7 separate regions of the Homo sapiens genome follow, and regions 1, 2, 3, 4, 5 and 6 are each linked to region 7. The links are contacts of gene promoters, found by promoter capture Hi-C in blood cells and fetal thymus (Javierre and others, 2016). All regions are on one chromosome and are shown on one strand. The core of a region is centred on a gene start or on the middle of the fragment in contact, and the rest is flanking DNA. Distances in the headings are between cores, read along the strand shown. Region 1 overlaps RCOR1 (REST corepressor 1). Region 2 has its middle 7.4 kb from the start of SNHG10. Region 3 overlaps ATG2B (autophagy related 2B). Region 4 holds the start of DICER1 (dicer 1, ribonuclease III). Region 5 overlaps GSKIP (GSK3B interacting protein). Region 6 has its middle 12 kb from the start of GLRX5. Region 7 holds the start of SETD3 (SET domain containing 3, actin N3(tau)-histidine methyltransferase).

The links. Contacts are between HindIII fragments. The CHiCAGO score rates a contact against its expected background, and 5 or more counts as called.
Region 1: a fragment that was not itself captured here is called in contact with the fragment with the promoter of SETD3 in region 7 in 1 of 17 cell types (non-activated CD4 T cells); the score reaches 5.4 in non-activated CD4 T cells.
Region 2: a contact is called between a fragment that was not itself captured here and the fragment with the promoter of SETD3 in region 7, in 2 of 17 cell types (neutrophils and monocytes). The highest score is 7.7, in neutrophils.
Region 3: a contact is called between a fragment that was not itself captured here and the fragment with the promoter of SETD3 in region 7, in 4 of 17 cell types (activated CD4 T cells, neutrophils, total CD4 T cells and 1 more). The highest score is 5.9, in activated CD4 T cells.
Region 4: the fragment with the promoter of DICER1 here is called in contact with the fragment with the promoter of SETD3 in region 7 in 1 of 17 cell types (erythroblasts); the score reaches 5.1 in erythroblasts.
Region 5: a contact is called between a fragment that was not itself captured here and the fragment with the promoter of SETD3 in region 7, in 3 of 17 cell types (neutrophils, monocytes and non-activated CD4 T cells). The highest score is 14.5, in neutrophils.
Region 6: a contact is called between a fragment that was not itself captured here and the fragment with the promoter of SETD3 in region 7, in 1 of 17 cell types (erythroblasts). The highest score is 6.2, in erythroblasts.

The regions. Positions count from the first base shown.
Region 1 is chr14:102,593,043-102,596,062 of GRCh38, forward strand. RCOR1 (REST corepressor 1) reads left to right here. Exons shown (of 12, transcript NM_015156.4): 1 at 1-145; 2 at 224-283. Among named protein-coding and RNA genes, the nearest start is that of RCOR1, 1.9 kb to the left of the region's middle. RefSeq lists a silencer at 1-583. The HindIII fragment of the contact is 855 bases long and covers 963-1,817 here.
Region 2 is chr14:95,525,835-95,529,124 of GRCh38, forward strand. No RefSeq gene overlaps it. Among named protein-coding and RNA genes, the nearest start is that of SNHG10, 7.4 kb to the right of the region's middle. The HindIII fragment of the contact is 1,692 bases long and covers 435-2,126 here.
Region 3 is chr14:96,348,795-96,352,025 of GRCh38, forward strand. All of the region lies in intron 1 of ATG2B (autophagy related 2B), which reads right to left. Among named protein-coding and RNA genes, the nearest start is that of ATG2B, 13 kb to the right of the region's middle. The HindIII fragment of the contact is 2,182 bases long and covers 181-2,362 here.
Region 4 is chr14:95,156,171-95,159,105 of GRCh38, forward strand. DICER1 (dicer 1, ribonuclease III) reads right to left here and starts at 1,359. Exons shown (of 27, transcript NM_177438.3): 1 at 1,060-1,359. DICER1-AS1 (DICER1 antisense RNA 1) reads left to right here and starts at 1,518. Exons shown (of 4, transcript NR_015415.1): 1 at 1,518-1,688; 2 at 2,023-2,064; 3 at 2,706-2,865. RefSeq lists silencers at 650-1,009, 1,070-1,529 and enhancers at 1,620-1,719, 1,760-1,829. The HindIII fragment of the contact is 7,422 bases long and covers 1-2,935 here.
Region 5 is chr14:96,371,004-96,374,260 of GRCh38, forward strand. The region is part of intron 1 of GSKIP (GSK3B interacting protein); the gene reads left to right. Among named protein-coding and RNA genes, the nearest start is that of GSKIP, 9.1 kb to the left of the region's middle. The HindIII fragment of the contact is 4,904 bases long and covers 1-3,257 here.
Region 6 is chr14:95,545,023-95,548,230 of GRCh38, forward strand. No RefSeq gene overlaps it. Among named protein-coding and RNA genes, the nearest start is that of GLRX5, 12 kb to the left of the region's middle. RefSeq lists a cis regulatory region at 797-1,087 and an enhancer at 2,761-3,208. The HindIII fragment of the contact is 521 bases long and covers 1,552-2,072 here.
Region 7 is chr14:99,479,208-99,482,218 of GRCh38, forward strand. SETD3 (SET domain containing 3, actin N3(tau)-histidine methyltransferase) reads right to left here and starts at 1,652. Exons shown (of 13, transcript NM_032233.3): 1 at 1,521-1,652. CCNK (cyclin K) reads left to right here and starts at 2,202. Exons shown (of 11, transcript NM_001099402.2): 1 at 2,202-2,272. RefSeq lists enhancers at 783-1,284, 2,093-2,462 and silencers at 1,133-1,332, 1,443-1,902. The HindIII fragment of the contact is 7,554 bases long and covers 1-3,011 here.

The DNA.
Region 1 (3,020 bases), core at 140-2,639, 3.1 Mb after region 7:
TCAGCCTCGGCCGCCGCCGCCTCAGCCGCCGCCGCCCCCAATAATGGCCAGAATAAAAGTTTGGCGGCGGCGGCGCCCAATGGCAACAGCAGCAGCAACTCCTGGGAGGAAGGCAGCTCGGGCTCGTCCAGCGACGAGGAGCACGGTAGGTGGCAGCCGCCCCCGCGGCCCCGGGCCCCGCGCCCCGCGCCGCGCTGACCGCCGTATTCTGCTTCCCCCGCAGGTGGCGGTGGCATGAGGGTCGGACCCCAGTACCAGGCGGTGGTGCCCGACTTCGACCCCGGTGAGTAGCGGCCCCGGCCGGCCGGCGGCGGGGATGAGCGGGAGCCCCGGGTCCCCGGCGAGCCCGAGGGGGCGGGAGCCCGCCGACAACTTTCTTTTTGTGCGTTCGCCCTGCCGTCCGTGGGGAGAACAGCAGGGCGAGGACGAGGAGGCGCACACGCACACGAGTGTTCTGCAAACGTGCCTCTGCACCCGGGGGAGGCCAGGTCGCCCCCAGCAGGGCCGGCGCCGCTGCCCCCTTGCGCCTCCGAGGACTGCGGGTGGCGTCGGAGGTGGCCACACCTGGCCTGGGGGCGCTGGGGGTCCCTGCGTCCAGGTGAGCTGCGCCTCGGCCAGGGGTAAGGGTGGCAGTGCCGGAGAGTTAGTGTCCTGCGAGCGCCCCGGACTTAGGAGGTCCCCAGAGACCCCTTTCTCGGAACCCTTCCCAAAGGCTGCTCCCCACGCCTTTGCTCCTCCTCTCAGCCTCTGGGCTCTTGCTGGCTCCTGACTGCCCTCCCATCCAGAAGGCGAGTAGAAGAACGACCCCCCAAAACCAGTCAATAAAAGAAGTGTGTTTTCCAGAGGGCGCCTGCCTGGGGAAGAGAGTCTCGCGTGTGGCAGTTGGATTTTAGGACCTATTTGTAAATGTGTGTATTTCCTTTTTTTTGGAGGAAGAGATTGTGAAATTGAGAAGCATCAGAAGCTTTAGCCTAACAAATGCTTTTCACCTACAAGAAAGCCCTACACCCTAGAATGGAACACTTAGTTCCCTGGCTGCTATTCTGTGTAGAAGCAAATTTAAAGTGGTACAAGAAAAAAAATCCGATCAGACAAAGGAATTCGTCAGATTTTAATGCATGAGATTCTAGCCAGTGTCTGTATGAGACTGTCTTTAAAGGTTGTTGGTATGGAAAATGTTTGAAAGAACGTAGGATTTATTTCAGAAATAAAATTCAAAAGAGCATCTTGTAAAGCTGGAGTTAACAATCCTCCATGGTTGGAGGGCTTTAGAGCTGGGGTTCTGTATGTGGGTTATACCACTAGTTTATTTGAAAAGATAAACGCATACATGTTTTTTCCTTGGAAACAAGACTGCAGAAAATTGCAATGATCTAGTCCTTGAAAAAGGCGATTGCTCTCAAGCTGTTATTAAGGTACTAAACTGCACTTTGAAGTGAAAATACATAGAGGTCCTAGGTGAGCTCTTGGACACTCTGGAAATAAATGACTTCCTAAATTGGCCTTCTAAATTTTGATTTGTTGACGTAAATCTGTTAAATTTATTTGTCTAATACTCGCGTTTGTGTTTCTTTTAAGTCCATGTTAGTGTTTTTGATAGTTTCCTCTTCTCCCCAATTCTTTTTTTTTTTTTTGGTAGTCACTTCTCGTTTATGAGTGACAGGATAGAACTAGGTGGCCAGGCTATATCTCTTGTATGCTTGGCTCCTCCGTTCCTTGGTTGGCCACCAGGGGAAGCATACTGTTTTTTGGTTACAGTTGACCCTGTCTTCATTTTGTAGGTCAAGTCTATCTTTGCTTTAAAACACAGAACATAAAGCTTGTTACCAAATTTTCCTAATGTATTATTTTTAAAAATCGACTTCCACAAATCTTTGAGTAAGTTGGTAGGCTTTTTGATACATTTTTGTTAACATAAATTTTGAAAACTTTATGTAGATGTGTTGGATGTGACTAAGGAAAAGGGCATATTTGTCAACAACAGGAATTAGATTTCTGACATTCATCGAAATATTGACATCAGCTCTGCATTGTTAGTAATGAGTTTGACTTCTTTGGAGTTATACTTTTCTTTGAAACAGCAAATATAATATTTTGAACTGTCTTTGGGCTTTTTGTTGGAATAGATATGAGCATAAACTTGCTAGTGACCAGCTATTCTAAAATGGAAAACATTTATCAGATTGCAGTAGCTCACACCTGTAGTCCCAACACTTGGGGAGGCCAAGGCTGGAGGATCTCTGGAGCTCAGGAGTTGGAGACCAGCCTGGGCAATGTAGTCAGACTCTGTCTCAACAAAAAATAAAAAAATTAGCTGGGCATGGTGGCATGTGCCTGTAGTTTCAGCTACGGGGGGGTCTGAGGCTGGAGGATCTCTGGGAAGTCAAGGCTGCAGTGAGCAGTGATCTGGCCATTGCACTCCAGCCTGGGTGACAGAGTGAGACCCTGTCTCAGAAATAAAAAGGAAAACATCTAACTGTTTTGCTGCATAGTCTTGCTGCCAATTGGTTGAGTATTGATATTAAAATTTCCAAATTTCTTTTTTTTTTTTTTGAGACGGAGTCTTGCTCTGTCCCTCAGGCTGGAGTGCGCAGTGGTGTGATCTCAGCTCACTGCAAGCTCCGCCTCCCAGGTTCACGCCATTCTCCTGCCTCAGCCTCCAGAGTAGCAGGGACTACAGGCGCCCACCAACACTCCTGGCTAATTTTTTGTATTTTTAGTGGAGACGGGGTTTCACCGTGTCAGCCAGGATGGTCTTGATCTCCTGACCTCGTGATCCGCCCGTCTCGGCCTCTCATAGTGCTGGGATTACAGGCATGTGCCACCGCGCCCGGCCCCAAATTTCTTTATTTTGTGTTTGTTTTAATCTGGAAAGGAATCTAACTGGTGTAAAGTAATTTCAAACCTTGTTTTGCCAACCTAAGCAGGGGGACACAGTTTTCTAGATATGGCAGAAAATTGAGACTTTACTATTTCCTAGTGGTTTTTTATGTGTCTTTTCATTTAACTTAAAAGCTTAA
Region 2 (3,290 bases), core at 31-2,530, 4.0 Mb before region 7:
TCAGCCAGTCACCAAATGCTGTCATCCCTACCTTCAAAGAACTCAGCTTGCAGCAGTGCCCTTCCCCCATGCCCCCACCCCAATACCTGCAAAGGTTAAATCTGATGACCCTCTCCTAAGTGGCCCCGTTAGCTCGGCCACCTCCAATCCATCAACACTCCCGCAAGGGTGATCTCTCAAGCACTCTGCAGCTTACACTCCTCCTGGGACTCTCCCTCATCCAGAGGAGGAGAGCCCAGTCCCTTACCATCTGTCCTCCCCTCAGCTATGTCCAGTCCTGCATTTCTCAAGAAACGGCCTGGCATTCTCCCAGTGGACCCAGGGGCCTCTGTGCCTTTGCCCTGGTTGCTCCCTCTTCCTGGAATGTCCCTCCTTTTTATATAGAAGCACTTTACCCTTCTCTCAAAACTCAGTTCAAGTGTCACCCCCTACTAAGCTTTTCCTATCCCTTAGGCGCTGACTGAGCTTTTTCCGAGAGCTCCATTCCCTTCTCCAGTTCTCGGGGGCATTCTTGCATCTGTCCCCATCACAGGACTGCGAGGTCCTTGGGATTTGGCAGCCTCTTACTCCACTCTGTATCCTGCTTAGCGCAGAGCCTGTGGGTGCCTCACTGAATGTTTCTCCACCTCCTATGGCACCTGTGCTCGATATTATGAGTTTCACACAATTTGGGATTTGCTGAGATCCTGCTCTGTATTGTTCACCAGGTTATGTATTCTTTATTCAAGAATTATCTATTGAACATATAGTAAGTGCCAGGGATGGCACTAGGGCACCAGGTTACAAAAATGAATCCTACCCAACTAGAAGTTGATGGCCTAGTGTGTGCGTGGTGGGGGTGGGGGGAGGAATAAACAGATACAATTACAATGCATACACTCCCTGAAGAGGTTCTGATCCCCAACCACTGTGAAACAGGGCTGGGTAGTAGCACAAGTGAGGTGGTTATATTCTTTGAGGCCTCTAATTGTGTGTCCTGGGTTGACATCAGCATTTGCAGAACCACTTTATGGACGGCCCTTTCTGACGTAACGTCGGCTGAGCTCTCTTATCAAGCCCACTGGTTTACACAGTTAGAAAAATTCAACTTTACACCAGTATTATTCAGTCCCTCAACACCTGATGAAATGTACTAGGTATTTCCAAGGTGTCTTCCAAGTACTAACATGAAGTATGTAACAGAGTTAGAATAACTTTATCTGGCACAATGGAGTAAAGTATTCCTTTTTTTAACATAACCTTAAGCTGTGTGTGTGTGTGTGTGTGTGTAGTTTTTGTTGGCAAGCTAAAATAAACTGCATGTTTCCTTGACTTCCTATTCAGAGCATGGGGAAAAGAATTTCTTTTTCTTGCTCGGAAGCATAATACAAGGCACTAGTGCACAAGGAACAGTCACGGGTGAAGACTGTTCGCCCCTCCTTACATCGAATGCCCCAGAATGCTGCTTTTTAAGAAGAATCCCAGAATGTCTGCCTCTTAGTGCTTCACCTTTCACTTACTGTTCAGTCATTGTTTCTTTCTGCTTTTAGTGTTAGCCTTTTAAAATTTACTGCTTCTGATCTGTTGTGGTTATATTAGAAAACTAAGTAAGTTAGCTATTCCCTAAAATAAGAATAGCACTTGGGTAAGAACTGAGAGACTTTTCCTAGAATTGAGCAAAATGATTAATTCCCAGAGAATGTATAATTACAGGGGCAGCCCTTATTGGCTCTTGCCCCAGCTTCCTCAGTAAAATAGACTAGTGCCCCCTACCTGCCTTGCCAGGAAAGACAGAGACTCATTCTATTATAAAATGTATTTCTCAAAACCAGAATGACTTTGAAAGATGTGTTATTTTTCTGAACACAAGTAAAAATTCCTTCAAGTAAGAGGATATTATTTGCTCTGTAATTAGACAGCCAATAGTATGTGTGGATTATCACGGATCTGTGGCTGCATGGTATGAAGAGATGAACCAACGGGAATATCCCATTGATTTCACATCGACTAGACTGGCATGTCCCCTCAAGGCTGCACTCATACAGCTATGATATGAAAATGCCAGATCACCGTCTATCTGGAGAGGGAAGAAGGTTTGCCAATATAACAGCTTCTCCTCAAGTCACCCAATTTTGCCTATGTAATAAAGCTTATGCAAAAAAAACTCCTTTTTTTTTAAACAAAATGTAATTGTTTTATGATAGTCTTTTTTTTTTTTTTTAAGATGAACTTTTGCTCTTGTTGCCCAGGCTGGAGTGCAATGGCGTGATCTTGGCTCACTGCAACCTCTGCCTCCTGGGTTCAAGTGATTCTCCGGCCTCAGCCTCCTCAGTAGCTTGGATTACAGGCACCCGCCACCACGCCCGGCTAATTTTTTGTATTTTTAGTAGAGATGGGGTTTCACCATGTTGGCCAGGCTGGTCTCAAATTCCTGACCTCAGGTGATCCATCTGCCTCGGCCTCCCAAAGTGCTGGGATTACAGGCATGAGCCACCACACCCAGTCTTTTGATAGTCTTTTATTAAAACTCTTTGAAACTGTGGCTCACTAAAATTTGATATCAATGAACAATATCTCACTAGGATACCCTTTCAAAAAATATTAAGTTTAGAATTAGCAAATAGGATTTTTCTGGCTGTAAAAGGAGAACAAAAAAATTTAAAATCCTCCATTTTTTTTTGCCAGCAAAGGAAAATGAATAATTAATGCCTCATCCCATTTCTAACTTGAATCATCCCTCCCCTCCCTGCAATTAAACTGGGGTGAATTTCTTTTTTGCTAGATGAACTGTTTTCTATTTATTTGTTTATTTCTGAGACAGAGTCTTGCTCTGTCGCCCAGGCTGGAGTGCAGTGGTGCGATCTTGACTCACTGCAACCTCCACCTCCTGGGCTCAAGCAATTTTCCTGCCTCAGCCTCCCAAGTAGCTAGGACTACAGGCACCCACCACCATGCTCGCCTAATTTTGCATTTTTAGTAGAGCCGGGGTTTCACCATGTTGGCCAGGCTGGTCTCGAACTCCTGACCTCAGGTGATCCACCCGCCTCGGTCTCCCAAAGTGCTGGGATTACAGGCATGAGCCACTGCGCCAGGCCTAGATGAACGATTGAAGAAGGCTGGAGCAATGGGTTCCCACAATAGCAAGACTGCATTTTGAAGGCATGAAATTATTAAAGCTCAAAGACTGAAGTACAAAGTGAAATTCTGACTCATGATAAAGTGTATTTATGGCCTTGGCAATACATCTTAGCAATTATTCAAAAGAAAACAATTAAATTTCCTAAATGTTCTTCTGGCTGCAAACTCAGTGA
Region 3 (3,231 bases), core at 22-2,521, 3.1 Mb before region 7:
AAATGCTTGAGGTGATGCATACCCCTTTTACCCTGATGTAATTATTAGGCATTGTATGCCTGTGTCAAATATCTCACGTACCCCATTAATATATATACCTACTATGTACCCACAAAAATTAAAAGTTAAAAATTAAAAAGAAAGCAGAGACCAAGATAAAGATGATCTCGGTCCTCACTAAGCTTACAAGATAGTATACCATGAAAGAGACAAGTAATTAAAGTGTGATGATTATATACAGAGGAAACACACTGTGCTATTTGAACACATAATAGAACCTAACCTGCAGATTCAAGGCAGCCCACTTGAAGGAGTGCTATTTTAAGCTGGGACCAGAAGACCAGAAGGAGTTAATCAGGCAAAATGGTCCAGGCAAAAACAAAGCATGTGGAAGGATTCAAAGAAAGCAGAAGTCAAAGAAATACATGCAGGCATATTTGATACATCGCAGTATTTGAAAAAGAAAAGTTGCTTTAGGCTTCAGTGTGCCAGGGCGAAGACCCAGAGACAAGGCTATGTAGATAAAGAGGAGTAGGATCCAAAGAGCCTTGTAATGCATGTTAAAGCGTCTGAAATTTATCTTAAGGGTGATGTGAAGCCACTGAAGGGCTTTAAGCAAGGACGCCATGATGAGATTCAAACTTTGAGTGGGCCCCTTCAGTTGCCATGTACAGCATGAAGGGAAGATGCCAGCAGGAAGGCTGTTATGAGTAATAGAAGCTAGAGAGGCTGGTTTGGCACAGATAGCAACACTGAGGACAGTCACAAGTGGATAAATTTTTGTAACATATTTAGGAAGTAGAATGATTAATTGGCATCATGAGGGGTAAAAGAAAGAAAGAATTATGAATGACACTTAGGAGGCTGGCTTGGGCAATTGCTTAGATAGAGGTGTCATTTACTGAGATACAGAAACACAGGGAAGCAGGTTAGAGGGAAGATGAGAAGTTCACTTCCAAAGTACACATTTAAGGAGACATCTAGGTAGAGGTGCTAAGGAGGAAGCTGGAGCTTCCTCCAGCTAGAGCTCAGGAGAGCCATCTGGGTGGGAGATACAGATTAACATTACAAACACAGAGGGTAGGTCAGGTATGGTGACTCACGCCTTTAACTCCAACACTGGGAAGCCAAGGCGGGAGGATCTTGAGCTGAGCAGTTTGAGACCAGCCTGGGCAACACATCAAAACCCTGACTCTACAAGAAATTCAAAAATTAACCAGGTGTAGTGGCACATACCCGTAATCCCAGCTACTTGAGAAGCCGAGGTGGGAGGAATGCTTAAGCCCGGGAGGCAGAGGTTATAGTGAGCCAAGACTGTGCCCCTATACTCCAGTCTGAGCAACTTAGTAAGACCCTGTCTCAAAAAAATAATAAAATAATAAACAAATGGGTAACTGAAGCCACAGCACGAGGAGAGAAATGTTTGGGAACTTATACAGTGTAAAATGAGAGGTGGCTTAAGACAGAACTCATAGACACCAATATTTAAGAAAAGGGTTATGAAAGAGGAGCCTGCAGAAGAAACTAGAAAAAAGCAAACAGAGACATAGAAGGAAAATTGAAAGAGGTTCATGTCCCAGAAAATCATGGAAGAACAACATGACAGAGAAGAGTGGTCAAGCTCAACAAAAGCTAACAAGAAGTCAAAGATTTTTAAATGTCTACTGAAATCAGTAATATTTAAAGTACTAGTGATCCCATTAACTGCAATTTCAGTGGCATGGTGGAGCAAACCAGACTACAACAGGAGACAGACAGAAAGAACGTAAATGCGATTTTTAAAAGACAATTTACTTTTCAAATTAAAATAACATATTTATTAAACGCCAGCTTATATGTAAAGTGCTTCCTGCATGCTATATTGCATAGGGTAGTATAATTCTTTGTCTGTACCCTAGTGTTGAATAGTGAGACTTGATCGGCTCGTTTTATTTTTGGAGATCACTACTTTAAAAGGCTTTCTTCATGCTGACATTTGCATAATCCTAAAGACTTTCCCAGTAGTACATGGGCATGGATGGTTTTAAGGTATAAGCATCCAAACATATTCTTTCCTAAAATGGACTGAGAAGACTACAGACAGTGGTGGCATCATGCTGGGTCTCCTGTCCCATAGTTCCTTGTACAATCTTCCTTCTCCCATTTAGCCAAAATAGCCATATTCTTCCTCTCTTCAGAAATTCTCCCTTATGTACTGTCTAAGGTATAAAAACCTCCAGACAGGGCCAGCAGTACATTTTCTATCTTTTCCCATCTTATACTTTTTTTGGCATGACACTCAGAAATTCAAAGAACTCAGTGATGTTGCTCCTGCAAAATCTCTCAATTCTCATCTACTGATTTATAACATCAGTATTTCTCAAGCTTGTATCTACATTTTAATTTAGAATAAAATGTGTGCCGAGCCCTGCTGAATTCCAGCTATAAGTATATTCACCTATGGATGCACTAACAAATTAGGGAGGAGGGGATCACAACCAACCTCTATCATTAAGAAATTTATTTCCAGTAAAAGTTTTTATGTTTGCTGGGTACAGTGGCTCATGCCAGTAGTCCCAGCAATTTTGGAGACTGAGGCAGAAGGATTGCTTGAGTCCAGGAATTTGAGACCATCCTGGGAGACATGGTGAAACTCGTCTCTACAAAAAATACAAAAATTGGCCAGGCGCAGTGGCTCAAGCCTGTAATCTCAGCACTTTGGGAGGCTGAGGCAGGCAGATTGCCTGAGGTCAGGAGTTTGAGACCAGCCTGGCCAACATGGTGAAACCCTGTCTCTACTAAAAGTACAAGAATTAGCCAGGCATGGTGGCCCACGCCTTTAATCCCAGCTACTCGGGAGGCTGAGGTAGGAGAATCACTTGAACCCGGGAGGCGGAAGTTACCGTGAGCCGAAATCGCGCCACTGCACTCCAGCCTGGGCGGCAGAGCAAGACTCCGTCTCAAAAAAAAAAAAAAAAATTAGATGGCATGGTAGCCCGTGCCTGTAGTCCCAGCTCCTTGGCGGGCTAAGGTGGGGATAATCGCTTGATCCCAGGAGGTCAAGGCTGCGGTTGAGCTGTGATCACCCACTGCACCCAAGCCTGGGTGACACAGCAAGACCTTGTCTCAAAAAAAAAAAAAAGAAAAAAAAATTTTTATGCTTATCAAAATGCATAAATTTATACTGTTTTGATCAACTATACACTTAACAATAATTGTAATTACAACACAATCCAGAAGAAAAGTAACACT
Region 4 (2,935 bases), core at 109-2,608, 4.3 Mb before region 7:
TTGCTTAAATCCTAACCTGAGTCCTTTTCCACTGTTTGAAAACAAGCACCACGAAGACACCTGACAATCAGGATTGTAAAGATTCAGAATATTCGAAGACAGAAGCATAGGCGTCCAAGTGATCCTCTTTCATCAGATGAATGTTTTTAAAACCTGAAAGTCCTAAGAACACTTACTTATCGTGTAGACCAGTAACGTGTCCCTTTAACCACAACTCTCTCCACAAAAGCACGGAGTTAACACTACACAAATAGGACCCTCCAACTCATCTCCACGTTTCCGCGGATCTTCAGGTTCCTAAGGACACACTCAGTGGTTTGCTGGCTCTGACCTCCAGGCAGAGCCATCAGGGCAACTCAGCTTTTCTGGACAATCTACAGAAATCTGATGTGCTAACTTAAAACATACACTGATTTCCCCAAAATCAAAAACCCTGAAGAAAGGGTCCTCCGCAGGGTCTAGGCATTTTGGCACAAAAACATCTGAGGGGAGAGGCAAAAGAATGGCCTCGGCCCCTGCCCGCCCCCCAGGGCCCCAATCTGGTCCCCTGACAGTAATCACACAGGACCCTCCCGGGAGGGACCGAGAGCCCAGCTTCGTCCCCTCCGGGCGCGGCACAGCGGCCCCATCAGAGGAGGGCCCCAGGGTGCTCCGGCAGGTCAGGCGCGCGTCTCCACCTCCGCTGCTCCCGCGCCACCTTAGCGCGCGTGACGGGACCTGTCAAGAGCCCCAGGCCTCGCCAGGCCGGGGAGTGGACAGGCGCCGGCATCCCCCACCACGCCACGGCGGCCCGGAAAGTCTCCCAGGGCTGCCTCGCGGGGAGGCGCCGGGGTCCGGGCCCAGGAGCAGAGCCGAGGCGGGCAGACGCCGGGTCCACAGGCCGCGCTGTGCGGGACGACGAGGCAGGCGAGGCCGCGCCCTTCGTCAGCGCCCGCCAGGCCCGGACGCGCGGCTCGGGGCCATGGCCGGCACGCGGGCCTCCGCGCGGAGGCGGGAGCGCGGCCAGGCGACCCGCTCCCCGCCCCGGACACAAAGCTGCTCCGCGGGAGCCCGCCTCACCTGCAGCACGGGGCGCCGCGGGCCTTCGAGAACCATCGGACCCCGCTCCGGCGCGCGCGTCACAGCCCAGGCCTCCCGGAGCCGCCCGGCGCCGCCGCCCCCGCCGCCATTTCCTCGCGCTCGCCGTCGCCTCGTCCCCGCTGTCAGGTTACTCCATTCACCTGGGCCTGCAGCAGCCTGCGCCGCGCCTCCGCCTCGACCCCTCCCGCCGGCGCCTGCGGAGACTGCGCAGCGCCCGGCTGGCCGGCAGCCAGCGCACGGCCCGCGGCAACGGCGCACAGCCGCTTGGAGAATCCCACTGGCTCCCGCACCGCCCCTCCGCGCCCCCACGCTCCGCTCGCCCCGTGGCGGCATGAGAGCGAGCCTGTGATTGGACAGGGCCTGGCGGTGAAAGGTTAATCCCGGCCCCCCAGCCACTCAGGAGCAGGGAGACAGCGGGCGCGCGCGCGGAGGCCGGAGAGGCGTTTGCGGCCCAGCGCCTGGACTGGACCTTGGCGTTGGGCCGCAGTTGCCCGGAGTTTTTGGGGCCCCCGGGAACCCGCGCGCCGAGGCCGGCTAAGTTTGGCAGACTCTCTGAGCTCTCGGAATTCGACTGCCTCCATTGTTGCTCCTTCTGGCACCCACAGACCGTAACGTGGCCGTAATTGTTTCCCGGAGAGCTTAGCTTCCCTCTGAGCACCTCCCTCCCCTTTTTAAAGTACCTTCCCACTCGCCTGCGTTTCCTCGCGTTAGTGGTGCAGGGGCCTCCGCATTTGGGGAAATAACAAACACCCACTTCCGCCCCCCACCCCAACCGGGATCCCCAGATAATGAGAAATAGATGGTGGCCCTCTGTTTGTAAGCTGTTCATTTGCATAGGTCGGAACCGCGCACCACAGCTTGAAGCTAGGAATTAAAATATCGGTGGGAATTAAATAAGTGGCTGGCTTAAAGAACATCTTCTTAATTTATCCCCAAATGTAGACATCTCTTCAGTGGACCCCCTGATAGGCCGGTTTGCTCCAGGTGAGGTGTGCTCACAGCAACTGCAACCGTGTTTCTTTCAGACCATGGGCGTGAGCAGAACCTACTATGCGCCCCTGCTGCCTGGGCTGTGCTGTTCAGTTTGGGGCCACCAGCCCCACATGGCTCCTGAGCACTTAAAGTATGGCTAGTCGGAATCGAGATATATGCATTCTTTACCAAATAATGTTCAAAAAATTGTTACATGTTGAAGTGATAAACTTTTTCCATATATTGGGATAAAAGTTTTATTTGTTTATTTTTTAGTGTGGGTTCTACAGAATTTTAAATGTCACCTGTGGCCTGCATTATATTGCCATTGGGCAGGCTGATCTAGGGCTTGCATGCCTGTGATCCTTAGGTGCACCCTGTGAGGTAGGTGCTTTAACTGTGTGCACCCTGTGAGGTAGGTGCTTTAACTGTGTGCACATTGTGAGGTAGGTGCTGAAACTGCTTCCTGTTTTTTTTTTTTTTTTCTTTTGAGACGGAGTCTCACTCTGTCTCCAGGCTGGAGTGCAGTGGTGCGACCTGGGCTTACTGCAATCTCCGCCTCCCAGGTTCAAGTGATTCTCCTGCCTCAGCCTCCCGAGTAGCTGGGATTACAGGGGCACGCCACCACACCCAGCTAATTTTTGTATTTTTAGAAGAGACGGGGTTTCACCATGTTGGCCATGATGGTCTCGATTTCTGACCTTGTCATCCGTCCGCCTTGGCCTCCCAAAGTGCTGGGATTACGGGCGTGAGCCACCGTACCCAGCCTGCTTCCTGTTTTAACAGACGAAGAAATGGAATAACTTCCAACAAGTAAGTAGCCAGTAAGTGAACAACTGAGATTTGAACCCACGTAGTCTGGCTTTGAGGCTGGTGTGCTCAG
Region 5 (3,257 bases), core at 426-2,925, 3.1 Mb before region 7:
AAATACTTTATATTTGTGATACTACACATGATTCTGAATTAAAATGTTTTATTTCAAAACAAATACATCTGTAAGCTATTGAAAACAGATTAAATGTTATGTGTTACAGAAAACAAAGGTTAAATTGAGTTTTAGCTTTGCCTAAATTCTAAATCTTGCTGATAATAATTAATAAACTTTATTCATCTTTACTTTCAAAACAGTTGTTGGAAATGCAGATAAATTCAGAACTCTTGTTTTATTTGTAACTGATGCTACCAGTTATTTTAAGTGTCTGAATAATAACCTGACTTCTCTAAGAAAAAGATTTCTGCTTCCTACACCCTATACTTTCCAAAAGACTGCAATTTTTAAATTGTTTTTTCTTATTGAAAACATAATCATTTTCTTTTCACCATAGGAAAATTAGAATATTAAAAAATTAAAGCTATCAACAATCTTTTTTTTTTTTTTTTTTTTGAGACAGAGTCTCACTCTGTCACCCAGGCTGGAGTACACTGGTGCAATCTCAGCTCACTGCAGCCTCTGCCTCTCGGGTTCAAGAGATTCTCCCGCCTCAGCCTCCCCAGTAGCTGGGATTATAGGCACGTGCCACCACACCTGGCTAATTTTTTTCTATTTTTAGTAGAGATGGGGTTTCGCCATGTTGGCCAGACTGGTCACAAACTCCTGACCTTGAGTGATCCACCTGCCTCAGCCTCCCAAAGTGTTGGGATTACAGGTGTGGGCCACCACACCCAGCCAAAACTATCAACAATTAATTTTTAACAAAGAGCAATAGCATAACTGAAGTGGAAAGAGTTGCAAAAACTTAGAGAAGGCCTAACTCAGCCCTAACCTTGTATCCTTTTACCAGCTCCTGCCTCTGCTTGTTAACTTTATACTGCCAGACACGGTGCCTGAAATTTTCATCTTGTTGAATTAAGTCCTTGGGTTAGGGCTATACTTCTAAAACGTATTTTTCATGCCAATATTCCTCACTCGAATGTACCTTTTAGAGGCAAAGGAAACCCTAGACGCGTAGGGGTATAATCTAAAGAGGATGTGGCTTGAGACATCCAAACATTTGTGTACTTTTTCATTAAAATTCTAGGCAGTTCTGTAATATTTCCTGATATTGATATAGTAACAGTGATATGTATTTTCCAAGAATATCTGCCATGTTTGTCCTGAGTCTTTGTATACTCCTTGTCACAGAGCCGAGTATCACACCTGAGAAGCAGAGAGTTAGAATTTTCTCTGTTTTATTCATTCAGGAAATATTCAATGAAGTCCTGCTTTATGCCAGACACTGTGCTGGTGATGTGTATATCACAGGCTCCCATCTTCATGGGTCTGTAGTAGTACAGACACAAAAATTATTTGCCATGAGGCTTAAGTACAGCAGTACCAAAGCAGAGATGCTGTTCAGGAAGATACAGTGATTGGCCATCTTGAGAGCAGATACACAATCCTGAAATAGGTTTGTCTGAGCTGAATTTTAGAGGACTAAAAGTCTTCAAAGTCGTGTTAAAATAAAATTTTTTAAGTTAAAAACATGGATCTCATAAAACATATGGTGAGCATGTGTCAAAATGCATTTAATTCATTAATGAAACAAACAACAAGATGGTAAAAGTTGGTTCAGAGTAGTATAGGTGATCCCTGAGAAGCATCATACAAATATGGTGAGCCTGTTGCCCTATTGTATTGCCTAGAGCCAGGCATGGCACTGGAAAGAAAAATCCAGGTAAAGCCTGATGGTCTCCCTGAATTGAGGACATAGAGCTGGAAACCCAAGAAGGCCAAGGCAGCTAGGACAGAGTACTAGAAAGTAAATAGCTTCACAGAAAGCAAGGACTGTGAGGATATAGGAAGGGTCTCCCTCCAGCCTGTAGCTGAATACTAATTCATGAGTTCACTGCCCTAGGCTGGGGAAAGAACTACCAAAAAGAATGAGAGGAGGGGCCAGGTGCTGTGGCTCACGCCTGTAATCCCAACACTTGGGAGGCTGAGGTGGGTGGATCACTTGAGGTCAAGAGTTTGAGACCAGCCTAACCAACATGATGAAACCCCGTCTATACTAAAAATACAAAGATTAGCCAGGCACGGTGGTGGCCACTTGTAATCCCAGCTACTCAGGAGGCTGAGGCAGGAGAATGGCATGAACCCAGAAGGCCCGGATTGCAGTGAACTGAGATAGCACCACTATACTCCAGCCTGGGTGACAGAGCGAGACTCTGTCTCAAAAAAAAAAAAAAAAAAAAAAAGAAAGGAGGATACTCAGTTTGGGACTTTCTGAAGCAGAGGTGATATGAAAATTATACATCTCCTCATTTCTTTGGAGACTAAGTTGCTGGATCTTCATCTTTATTGGATAATATCAAATCATTTTCCAAAGTGTTGTGCCAGTTTACACTCCCACTCAGTGTCTAAATGTTCTGTGTTCTGCATCCTCAATAATACTTGATTTAGAAAATTTTTTATGCATAGACTCAAAAAGGAAAATGTCTTACTGATCTGCAAGATGTTAAATGTTACCTCATTTTAATTATTTCTATAATTTCTAACTGTGAGTGTATTTTCATGTGTTTAATAATCATTTCTGTTCTTCCATTAAAAAAAAAAAAGAATTACAGGAAACAGTTTTCTGAGCTAAAGCAGGACTAGGGATAATTCCCATTCTTATCACACAGAATAGAAACCCTCGTAATTCATAGGGCATTGGGTAGAGTACTCAGAAAGGTTTTGCCTCTGTAATGGGACAGAATTAACTAGAGATTAAACGCAGATCTTGTCTAAAAGCAAGACCCAGAAAGATCAAGCTGTTTCCAGATAACTACCTCCCAGGACAATGCTCAACAATATTTATTACTTTTTAAATTTTTTCTCACCATGCGTCTAACCAAATGAATTCAATAATATTTAAAATAATATAAAAACATTCAGCACCACATTCACAATGTCTGGCATCCAGTCAGAAAAGACCAGGCATGCAGAGCAGCAGAATATAACCTACAATTGAGAAGAAAAATCTGTCCGTTGAGAGTAACCCAGAAATAATACTTGAAATTAGTAGGCAGGACATTATAACACTTATTATGGCTGTATTTTATATGTTCAAAAAGCTAGAAAAAAGATTGAGCAAATTAAGCAAAGACATGGAAAATATGTTTAAAAGATTAAAAGACACAAATAGAATAGATACTGAAGAAAAGACTAACAAACTTGAAGACATATCAATAAACAATTCAAAATGAAACAGTGAAAAAAATAAA
Region 6 (3,208 bases), core at 562-3,061, 3.9 Mb before region 7:
AAGACCTTTCCATGAGTTCTGCATCCCGAGACTGGGGCCTGGTAGAGCCTGGGGCTGTGCAGAGGCCCATGGGAAGGAAGCCCGCCTGGTGTGGCATGGAGGCTTTGTTCATCTCCAGGGACTTAAAGAGAGCGCTTGTCTAGAAACATATCTTTACGGTGGCAGAGGTGGGAAGAAGGATGCATTTTCTCATAATAAGGGCAAAAAGGACAGAACGGCTCTTTTCCCCAGAGCTATTCTAGAGGCTTGTTCTTCGTTGCTTATTTAATCTCCTTGAGTTCCTCTCGAGAATACTCTAAAAACAGACTTCCTCCATGAGGTCAGGCTAGAACTGATGGAGTTGCCCCTGCTCCCCTTCCCCAGAGGTTTTGGAAGGGGAAGGAAAGCTGTAGCCCCACGCCCCCACCCTGGGGACTGCCCCATCAGATTAGAGCACTGCTCCTCAGCAGTCACCCACCTCACCGTGTTAGAGAAAAGAAAAATAGATTATTCTCAGAAAAAGGTTATTACATTAATTGTCTGCTACATCCCATGATACCTTTATGTCTTCTGTAAGCTAAGGGACCTTAGGATCTAAGAGGAGGTTAAAACACATCCATTTGAGCCATTTGGTTTAGAAATGAGGGAAGCAGGAGCACTAGAAGGATCTACCTTGCCCTGTAGACAGAGTCACCATGAATAAGTCACTTCATACTGCCTCTGGATGGATACAGGCCGTGGACCAGAGGCCGGGTCTGCAAAATTGTCCCTTGCCATCACATCTAGTGAGGAGTGTGATACGTTTTCACAATTTTGCTTCTTTTGGCTTTTCCTTGAATCTGCCTGTGTGCCCTTAGGTTTCATCTGAAAAGCGAAATGATGAGAAACTTATTGATGGGAAGCATCAATGTAAGAAACCTCTCTAGAATATGATTGGAGCTAGGAAAAGGCTGCCAAGTGAATAATTTGACTCATGCTTATGAGTCATAGTGAGATCATATCAAAGTCACTAGGGAACTTATAAGTTGAAGGAATCACTGGGCTCTACGAGGAATGTAAGTCTTCTTTCTCAGAGTTAATTAATAATTTTTTTCTATATGCCTAACAAATCTCTACCAAGTAGAAAATTGAAGATGCTATCTAGTGTAAGTCTGAATAATTTTGATGGTCTGCATAATTAGAATTCACTGTGAGAATTAGAGCAGAGACACAGAGGTTCCTTGTGCAAACAGCAGTATCACGCACCTATTTAAAATGCAAGGACTGCTTCTCGGGTTTAAATGCACCTATTTAAAATACATTAGGCCTGTATTAGTGTGATTATATTGGATATTTGTCATAGCTTCAGGGTCTGTGTGATTAGACCCTTAGAAATCAAGTTATTTTAGAAGATTAAACATTTTATGATTTCAGGTAGTTTTTATTTTTTTCATGGATTGGTAGTTACATAAATGGCATTCTGCTTCATTAAGCTATGAGTTTTAGAGATATCTTAGGACAGAAGATAACTTTTAAGTTGGGTTTCGTTTTGTTGGCAGTGTTTAATTCACTTGTGTAGAATCTGGGAACCGAAGCTTTCCTTTAACTTTTCAAGCCATAGCAGCCAGCTTAAGAGAGAATTCTTGTTACATTTGTTAGGTTTACTTAGATATTTTGACATAAATTATATTTTGAGAAATCAGGTCCCTTGTTTGTGACAGGAGGGACTGTGCTAAGGGTAGAGGAATGACTTGTGTCGGCAAGGTTTCATTGGTGCAGATTGATTGATTGATTGATTGATTGATTGATTGAAAAAGGGTCTTGCTCTGTTGCCCATGCTGGCGTGCAGTGGCCTGATTATGGCTCACTGCAGCCTTGACCTCCTGGGCTTAAGCAATCCTTCCCACTCAGCCTCCTGAATAGCTGAGACTTCAGATGTGCACCACAACACCTGGCTAATTTTTTTATTTTTTAGAGACAGGGTCTCTGTGTTGCCCAAGCTGGTCTTGAACTCCTGGCTCAAGCGATCCTCCCACTCTGGCCTCCCAAAGTGTTAAGATTACAGGCATGAGCCACTGCGCCCAGCAGAAACAAATTTAAATGTGAGGTGAGAAAGCTTTCATGTGGGTTCCTGAGAGCCACCGACAGGAAAAGATATATATTAGGGGATGGCCACACAAAACACTGATTGTTTTAAAAATTTAACATTCCACTTAAGAATTGTTTAGTAAATCTAAAAAGCAGCTTTAAATTGTGCCTAAGAACCATATAATAGCTACTATGAAGCAGAGCAGAGGAATGGTGAAGAGAAAAGCCATTTTAAGGTCCAGGGGCTTACAGAGACGCATGGGGTGACCAGGTGGACTCTTGTAAAGCCACATTCCTGTCTTATTTCCTGAGAGTAGCATCACTTTAGGTCTGAAAGCTATGTGGGCATTTTGCGTGAGGGGAGCATTGTTTTCTTGGCGGTTGCCCTGGGAGCCCAGTGCAGGTGAGCTGAGGGCAGAGTCTCCCTTAGGGCAGAGATGCCACTGAAGGTGCACCTCACCTCAAAGATCCCTATCCTGGATTCAGTCAGAATAGCCATGTTATTCTCCTCCTTGTGAACCTCCCGGGGCACCCGGTTGTGTCACAGTGAAGTCTCTCCTATCCCAGAAAGCCTTCCCTGACCCCAGACGGAACAGACCCTTTAATCCACTCTACAGCCCTGTTCTTTGTTCATCACTCCAGGACCTAACTGCCTGTTACTTGGCTTTATTCAGATCCCCTCTGGCCAGCATACAGAGTGCCCCAAAAAATACATTTAGAAAAGAGTGAAGAATTTCCTTTCTTCATTCCTTTTGGATTAGTCACAAGAAATGTTAGGCTATTACAGGTTACAGCCTCGCAACACCGCAGTAGCTAAGAGCCGGGACTCAAGTCACCCTCCCTGGGTTTGCATCCCAGCACTTGCTGGGTGTGCTACTGACCTCAGACGACTTAGTAACCTCCCTTCCTGCTTAAGTGGGCAAATAGCAGATGCCACCGACCTCAGGCGTGTTACAAGCTTAGATGACAGCACCCTGTCGAGACCATGGCTCATAATGAGCTCTCACTGTAAGTTGACCTTGACAGTTAATGTTGGATTACACCTGGACTTGGTACCGCGCTGTGGTATCCACCACCGTTCGGAGGGTTTAAGGGAGCAGAGAAGGACAGGCTGATGAACACAACATCGTTCATGTTTGGTTGCCCCTGGAACATAGAGACT
Region 7 (3,011 bases), core at 402-2,901:
GTAGCAGAAGGCTAAAATCCAAGGTTGTCTGGGGTCCCAATAAAGAGGTTCTGTAGCTGTTTGAGAACTTGGCTTTGCAAACTACTTTCTTAGGCCGAAGAAAAACTCCTCGGTAAACTGTTGGAATTTCACCAAAGTATCAATCACGGCAGCCCTTGGGACTAATCCAGTACTGCTGGACTTTCACGCATGGTAGCCCGTATAAACACAGTACATACAGCAAGGTTCAAGCAAGTCTTGGCAAATTTTAACAGTGGAGAGGAAGACTGCTTTATTTTGCTATATTCTTGGGTTAAATGTATTCGCTTAAAATAATAAACACTTCTCCGAGATTATTACTGGTTAGTTCAGTTTTGAAATACTGGCAAGGTCATTTCAAGAAGAAAAACGGGAGAGGGAGAGGTATATTTTACATAAGATAAAATTCACACTTTTCAGTGTCCGGTTCTGAGTTCTGACAAACGCATTTATAGTGGCCTCATCAGCACCACAATCAGGCTACGAAGATGGGGTAACTCTTCGAGGATTCTTAAAAGCAAAATTGATTTGTCAGCATACTTTAAAAGTATTTTTGCTTTTGAAACATCACCTTATTTATTTAGAAAAGCAAAATAACACGGTCCGAGTGGTCCTAACCCGCGAATGCCTTTGCAACACTGAAATGCCCTCCTCCCAACACCGGCCGGGCAGGGGTGAGCCCCGCAGCCAGGGGCGCGCGTCACTGTCAGCTCCTTTTCCCAAGTGGAGACCGGGAAAAGACAAGAGTTGCATCGCCGGGCTGGAGCCACGAGGAGGAAGAGTTAACGCCGGAATGACAAACTCTAAAGCACCGAATTGCCTCTCCCTAGTAGGGCACTGCGCGTGTGGAGCACGGCCAGGGGCGCGTGGGAAGAAAGACGACCTATTTCCTACGTCCGTCTTCCTAACTGGACGGCGCGGGAGGAGGCGGGGGCTGGTCCCCGGGCACCCTGGTGGGCACCGAGAACTCGCAGAGAGGAACATAAAACCGCACAGCCTTCCCCGAGCAGCGGGGTGACGGGAGGAAGGAAGGAAATGGGAGCGCGACCCGGCCGCGCGCAGAGCCGAGCCGACTAGCGCGAGGGGCCCGGGCCCCACCCGAGAGCAGGCGCGAGGGCCGGGGACAGCGGGGCAAGCTCGGGGAGAGCGCTGCCTGCACCTGGCACCACCTCGAGACCGGGTGGCGCGGGGCCCGGGAGCGTGGGCGCCAGAGGGGACAGGGCAGCGGCGAGCGCGCGCCTCTCGCCCCGCAGGGCGCCCGGGCAGAGGCCGACCGGCGCCCTCCGACCCCGCCGGGCCCTCCTCGCCCTGGCCCCCGAGCGCACACCTGCCCCTTCAAGCCCCGGGGCCACAGCGGCCGGCGGGGACCCTGGCGGGGGCGCGGGCCGGACTTCGGCCGAGGGGCGCTGGCCAGGGCGAGGGACGGCCTCGCAGAGCTCGGAGACGCGGCGCGAGTTTCCCCCGCGGGCCGCGCGGGCGCAGAGACCGCCGCCAGCACTCACCTGCCCGCTTCCCCTAGCGCAGCGGGAACGACGTACTCCGGCCCGGACCCCGCCGTCCGCCTCAACCAACCCCCAGGCGGTGGCGGCGGTGGCGGCGGCGGCGGCCGGACGGGAGGGGCGGGACGGCAGCCTGAGACGGCCCCGCGACCGCGGCCCAACGCTTCTCCTCCCGCCCCGGACCCCGCCCCCGGGCCGCAGCCGCCGCCGTTCATTGGCCCACGCTTCGGACGCATGGGCGCGGCCCCGCCCCGCCACCCAGCCGGCGTTCCGTTCGGGGTCCTCCCCAGCCAGTGGGCTGGCAGCTCCCGGGGGCAAGAGCGGCCGGCTCAGCCGCCGCCAACCACGATGTCGCAACTGGCTGCGTTCGCCCCCGCCAGAGCTTTGATTGGACGAATCTCGACCCGGGCCCCGCCTACGCGCCCAAGTTCCGTTAGCAGGTTCGGTTGCTCCAGAATGCCTTTTCGCCCCGAGGGGCGGGACCGACGGGATGGGCCCTGTGGCTGGCTCCTCCCTCTGTAAGCAGCAGCCACTGACCCGCGGGGCGGGCGGGGAGGAGAGCGGCGGCTCGTTCCTCTTTTGAGAGCTCTGCTTTCTTCCCATTGGTTGACAGGCATCCTACTCTCTCCGCCCCTCCGGTCGCTTGGTGGCGTCTCAGGACGCAGCGTGATGACGTAGGTCCCCGACATTCCATATACAAGATGGCCGCAGTCGGCAAGGAGAGACGTCGCTGAGGGGCTTGCCTGAAGCGAGGGGTGAGTGACCCACCGACTGAGGGCAGCGCCGCCCACCTCCCGCGTATCTGGAGGTCGGAGTAGGTTATGGCCAACCGCCGCTATCCACTGGCGGAGTCTCTCTTTCCGGATTCTGCCTCCCTCCGCTAACCTCCGGTACACATTGAACTTTGCGGGCGACGCGGGGTTGTGGGGCGGGCGTGTAGAGAGGGTCTGAGGCGCCGGGGCGGGGCAGGGAGGCCGGACTCACCCTAGAACTGGTAGCGGCCCTCGCACTGGGGGGCAGTCAGAGTTGGGGAACTTTCTAGGGGTTGGGCAAAAGGGGCAGCGGTGTTAACCGCGCACAGTCTCACAGCCACAGACTTCTCATATCTCCCCGATTATTTCGCGGCGTATTAGTCCCAACCTTGGCTAGGCCTGAAACTTTTTGGAGGTTGTTCCATGTCTAGGGTACTCCGACTTTGGAGTTTTGGAGAGCCACGTAACGAGGGTGCGGCTAAGATGAGGAAAAGGCACTTCCGGGATTAGATTTCGTTCTTGCCCAGACATCGTCTTTACGGACCCGCTCCTGGTGGTTGATTTGGTTTGTTATGAGAGAAATTGTTCTTTAGAAAATTGGAGCGTAAGTCTAGAGGTTATGTGACAGCTCCTAAACGATTGTCTGCCCAAGATAGGCTCGGTAATGCTCCCTAAATTTAGACTGCCAGTTAAACGGAGCTTTCGCTAAGTCATCTGAGGTTAGGAACTATTTCTAAGAGCA